Linked DNA regions of Homo sapiens: region 2 is linked to region 1. The links are contacts of gene promoters, found by promoter capture Hi-C in human tissues and cell types (Jung and others, 2019). All regions are on one chromosome and are shown on one strand. The core of a region is centred on a gene start or on the middle of the fragment in contact, and the rest is flanking DNA. Distances in the headings are between cores, read along the strand shown.

Evidence for each region. The method cuts DNA at HindIII sites, captures the fragments that hold promoters and counts their contacts. A contact is called where the count stands out against the background at its distance.
Region 2: the fragment with the promoter of ST6GALNAC2 here is called in contact with the fragment with the promoter of ST6GALNAC1 in region 1 in 1 of the 25 tissues and cell types used here (adrenal gland).

Annotation. Positions count from the first base shown.
Region 1 is chr17:76,642,393-76,645,092 of GRCh38, forward strand. It overlaps ST6GALNAC1 (ST6 N-acetylgalactosaminide alpha-2,6-sialyltransferase 1), which reads right to left and starts at 1,365. Exons shown (of 9, transcript NM_018414.5): 1 at 1,116-1,365. The coding sequence starts at 1,246. The HindIII fragment of the contact is 5,915 bases long and covers 1-2,700 here.
Region 2 is chr17:76,584,544-76,587,243 of GRCh38, forward strand. It overlaps ST6GALNAC2 (ST6 N-acetylgalactosaminide alpha-2,6-sialyltransferase 2), which reads right to left and starts at 1,317. Exons shown (of 9, transcript NM_006456.3): 1 at 1,141-1,317. The coding sequence starts at 1,265. RefSeq lists silencers at 1,074-1,413, 1,464-1,753 and enhancers at 1,622-2,303, 2,304-2,700. The HindIII fragment of the contact is 21,800 bases long and covers 1-2,700 here.

The sequences.
Region 1 (2,700 bases), core at 115-2,614:
TGAGAATTAGTGAGTTAACGTATATCAAGCACTTAGAATAGGGGCTAGCTCATAGTAAATACTATAGCAGTGTTAGCTACATAATAATAGAATTCCGTGTACCCTCAAGTGTCAAGAGTGGTCACCTTGAAGAGTGGATAGAGGTGGAGGTATAATAGGGAGACCCTCACTTCCTGCTTCACCTTTCTGTATTTTTTTTAACTCTATGAGAACCTGCATTACTTTCAACGTTTAGGAACAGTGAAATGAAATTATTGGCTGGGCGCAGTGGCTCACGCCTGTCATCCCAGCGCTTTGGGAGGCCGAGGTGGGTAGATCACTTGAGGTCGGGAGTTCAAGACCAGCCTGGCCAACATGGTGAAAACCTGTCTCTACTAAAAATACAAAAACTTAGCCAGGCCTGGTGGCATGCGCCTGTAGTCCCAGCTACTCAGGAAGCTGAGGCTTGAACCTGGGAGGTGGAGGTTGCAGTGAGCTGAGATCATGCCACTGCACTCCAGCACTCCGGCAGCAGAGTGAGACTCCGTCTCAAAAAAAAAAAAAAAAAAAAGAGGGCCTCTCACTGCTGGAGATGTGTGTATTTTCTAAGAAAAATGGTCTAGAAGGTATTTTTGAAGGATTAACTTGGCGTCCACAATTGAAACTGCATCCCTAAGAGGGAGGCTCTCCATTTTAACTGACAAACTTAGGGTGAGTCCGGGTCTGAAACAAGTGGAACACACAGCATGGCTCTTTCGCTTCAGGACGTAGAGAATGGCATGTAAGAACTAACCCAGTGCTGCTGCCATTACTCACAGTCCCAGAGGGGAAAGCAGTCATGTCTTCTGTCTGCACTCTGCAGACCTAACCCATCAGTTCTCAAACTCCTGTACGTGTCCCACAGTATCTGGACATGTCCATCCCATGCGTCTTGGTTGCCCACTGCCACCCTTTCTGTTCCCTGCAAGTCTTCCCATTAGTCTTTCTTCCCAGTGCTTCTTGAGAACACTCCTGACCCCTGACACTCCCATGTGGACACACAGGTGGCTCAGACTTCCCCAGTCCTCCCTGGGCTATCATTTTTCTGTTTCCTCAAATGAATGAAATATGAGGAGTGGAAAGGACAAGAATCTTACCTGGAAGGCTTTGTTTGAGGCTCCTTAATAAAAGAGGGCAAGGCGAAGAGAAAGAAGACCAGGACAGCCAGAAGCAAGGACCACTGGACGCCTTGGCTCAGGTGCCTGCATCTCCACAGGCAGGACCTCATGGTGGTGGGTCGGGTTCTAGAGGAAGGTTCTGCATGTCCTGGGGCCTTGATGTAGGCAGCTGGGAGTCTCACCGCTCAGGTTTCCTGGCCAGGAAGTGCACACCCTTTGTCTTAACAATGAGCCACTCCGGCAAGTGCTGAGTTTATCAGTCTCTGCCTGGGAAGGGAGGAACCGCCTTCACTGCTGTATGAAGGCTTATAAGCTGGCGTGGCTTAAAGGAAGGGAAACTCCTTGTGTTCAAACATGTTTACCTTCCTTTTTTGTCTTTGAAGCCAATATCTGAAAGTCAAGCTTTATGAGAAATATAACCACATTATATGCAGTCTCATCTTGGTCAGGTTACTTAACCCATCTGCCGCCATATAAATGGAAAAAAGCAGTTATCTTCCTTTTGGGATTATCATGAAGACACCTTGAGGCCACCATGCACAGGGCTTTGTTTGTGGTAGGCACCCAACACACATGTTCAACACTTTAGCTCAACCTTCTCTGTTTCTCTTCTGAAATCATGACCATTACAACAATGACCAGCACGTATGAGGGCTCACTCTGAGCTGGGCAGTGGGGAGTCTTCACAGGCACTCATGGAACCCTCACAGCCACTCTAGGGGCTGGGTACTGTCATCACCTCCATTTGACAGAGGAGGAAATGGCCTCCAAGAACAAGCTGCCAGCCCAAGAGCACATGGTGAGCCACTGGCTTGGGGTCCAGATCCAACTGACCTAGAGATTGCATTCTTTTTTTAAGAAATAGAGATGGGTCTCAGTATGTTGCCCAGGCTGGTCTCAAACTCCTGGACTTAAGTGATCCTCCCACCTCAGCCTCCCAAAGTGCTGGGATTACAGGCATCGGCCACCATGCCCAGCCATGATTGCATTTTTCTTTCTTTTTTTTTTTTGAGACATTCTCACTCGTTGCCAGCCTGGAGTGCAGTGGCGCAATCTTGGCTCACTGCAACCTCCGCCTCCCGGGCTCAAGTGATTCTCCTGCCTCAGCCTCCTGAGTAGCTGGGACTACAGGCACCCAACACCACACCCGGCTAATTTTTGTATTTTTAGTGGAGACGGGGTTTCACCATGCTGGCCAGGATGGTCTCGATCTTCTGACCTCATGATCCACCTGCCTCGGCCTCCCAAAGTGCTAGGATTACAGGTGTGAGCCACCGTGCCTGGCCGATTGCATTCGTATCCACTGCTTAGTAGCACCTACGAGAAATCATTAACTCTACCTTGATCAAAGCAATGCAAAACAAAACCCACATAATTCTTGGGAAAAAAAAGTACACCTCAGAGGAAAAACATCAAGACCATTTGTAGAAAACTTTAAAAATTCAGAGAAGCAGCCCTCCATAAAGTACTGTGAGTTAGTAATTTTATAAAAATATTGTCCAGGGTGTTGAACTGTGGGAGAGGTTTTGGAGCCTGGGCTCACTGTTCACACCTGGCGGTGGGC
Region 2 (2,700 bases), core at 67-2,566, 58 kb before region 1:
ATCACAGCTCACAGCCTCGAATTCCTGGCCTCAAGCTATCCTCCCACCTCCGCCTCCCAGAGTGCTGGGACTACAGGCGTTAAGTCACCGTGGCGGGGCAAGCACCCTTTGTTCTAAGAGTGCTGGACTCCTGATCACTGGCAAGCTGTTTCACATTGTTCTGCAACTTTTGGTGTATCCTTTGACAGCATCTGTGGAGACCAGATACTTATTTTGTTTTCATCCCGTTAGCCCCCCAGCAAGGTTGGTAGGGGGTGCGCAGATGGAAAAGCTCCAGGAAGGGAAAGGCTGGGGCTGGAGGCCTCTCCCTGAGGCTGCCGGGCCCTTCCCTCCTCCCAAACCCAGACTTCGCACGGCTTGGTCCGCCTTTCTTAAGCTAAGCGAAATCGTTTTGCGGCTTCTTCAGTCACCGGAACCACCACCTGCTAGAGGCCGGCTCCCAGGTTCTCCTCGTGGGACACCCAGGAAAGTGCCTAGGGAGGAGGAGGGAGTGGAGCGCAGGACGCGGCGCGGGGAGGAGAACGCGGATGGAGCCAGGAGTCACCCCTCTTTCCCTCGGGCGCCCGCCTCTTCGCGGATCGCGCCCGCACTGGGCTTATCCAGACACGGCGAGCGGAAGCCGGGGAGAAGGGAGCGGGCGCGGGGCGGACAGAGACCGCAGCGGGCGGGAAAGGCGACTGGCCGCGGCCCGACGGAGGGTCCCCGCGAAGTTGGAAACCGGAGACTTGGGCCCCTGCCCAAAAAGCAGAATCTGACGTTACCGAGGGAGAGTTCCCGACAAAAAAGGAAGTTTTTATCTGCTTCGGGGACCCAGCCAGATTTCGACAATAGAAAGTGTACTTATCAGGCCGGGGAGGACTTCACCAACAAGGGGCACCGGGGCGGGTCGCCAGTGCACAGGGGCGAGGTCTTCCTTGGACCCAGGCAAAGGCCGCGGGGTCCGGGCAGCGCGAGGTCAAGGCTGGGAGAGGGTTCTGGCGACAAAGGGCCGCGGCCGAGTCCTCGCTGAGAGCTGCCCCAGAGGGGTCCACGCGGAGGTTGGGCTGAGGGCTGCGGGCCGCCGGGGAGCCCTGGGCTGGGGACCCTCCCCGCGCCCTGGTCGCCCCTGCGCCCTCCCGCTCTGCGCTCGGCAGCCCCTACCTGGCTCCGGCCGCTGGCCCCGGGTACCGCTGCACCGCCGAGAAGTACAGGGCAAAGAGGAGCCCCGAGCAGGCAGCCGTGAGCAGGAGCAGCAGCCAGAAGAACGACCCGCGCGGGAGCCCCATACAGCCCCGGCCCGCGAGCGCCCCGTCCGCTGACGTCCCAGGCAGAAGGGAGAGAACCGGGTGGGCCGGGTGGCACTTGCGGAGGCGGCCGTCTTGCCCTGCCCCGCCCTGCCCGCCGGGTGCCTGCGGCGCCTGCCCGCCCGGCAGCTCCCTCTCGGCCCCGGCTGAGTGGCCAGAGGCTGCCGCACCCTCGGGAGCTGGGCGGCGGGTCCCCCGGGGCTGGAGTGTCGTCCCGGCGCCCAGAGCGCGCGCTCCTTTGGCCCTGCCCCCTGCCCGGGGGACTTCGGCAGCGGCCACTCCTGCCACTGCGCTCTCTCCAGAGCCCAGCCCCGGGAGGCCGCCAGTCTCGGGTTGGGCAGGGCGCTTTCCTCGCGCCGTCCGGGGCTAGCTAGGCGCGGGTAGACGCCGCCACCTGCTGCGCTGGCTGCGCTCTGCCCTCTGCGGGCCCGGCACTCGGCCTCTAGACTCTGTGGCGGGTGGGCGGCGGCCGGGAGGAGATGTGCCCGGCTCCCTCCAAAGGACCCTCAGATCTGTCAGTCTGCGGACGCCAGGACAGCTGGGAGGGGGCGGGCAGGGTGGAGGAGCAAAACCCGACAGCTCAGTCTCTGGGCTGGCGGTAGAGGGGGGAAAAGGGGGTGAGGTGGGGAGCTTGCCGTGATGGGTTTCGTGGGGGAGCTAAGGCTGTCAGCGCTTATTTGGTAACCATCCAGGGTGGCCAGTCCCCTCAATCGCATTGAGTTCCTTTCACAGAACGAGGCCAGTCAGAGAGACCACCTGAAATGTTCAGCACAACGGGTTCCCAAACTTATTGGCACCAGGGACTGGTTTCCTGGAAGACAATTTTTCCACGGAGGGGGGTGGGGGTGGGGGGGTTGGGGATGAAACTGTTCCACCTCAGATCATCAGGCATGAGTTAAGATGCTCTCATAAGGAGCCCGCAACCTAGATCCCTGGCATGCGCATTTCACAAAAGGGTTCGCACTCCTTTGAGACTCTAATGCCGAGGCTGATCTGAAGGAGGCGGAGCTCAGGCGGTAATGCTCCTTCCCCCTCCACTCACCTCCTGCTGCGATGCCCTGTTCCTAACAGGTCTCGGACCAGGCTTGGGATTGGGGACCCCTGGTCTAGCAGGCTCCAGCATCAGAAAGGGCTGGGAAGCTCAGCACCCGTGCTCTCTAAGTGGAACACTCCCTGGCAGTGAGTGATGGATGAGATGGGTGTGCTTCAGTGGCCACTGTTCGGCAAGCTGTGACATGCGGCAGGCTGTGACATGCCCCAGACTCCCAACTGTCAGCAGGCTGCAAGGATGAGAGGGACCTAGGCTACCGTGTCACGGGCCTTTGGCTCTAATCTGTTCTTCATGTATCCGAGGAAGTCTGGGTGCAGCAACAGGTACCTGTCTGATTGCAAGGCTTCCCGAAAACCTCCCAGGGCC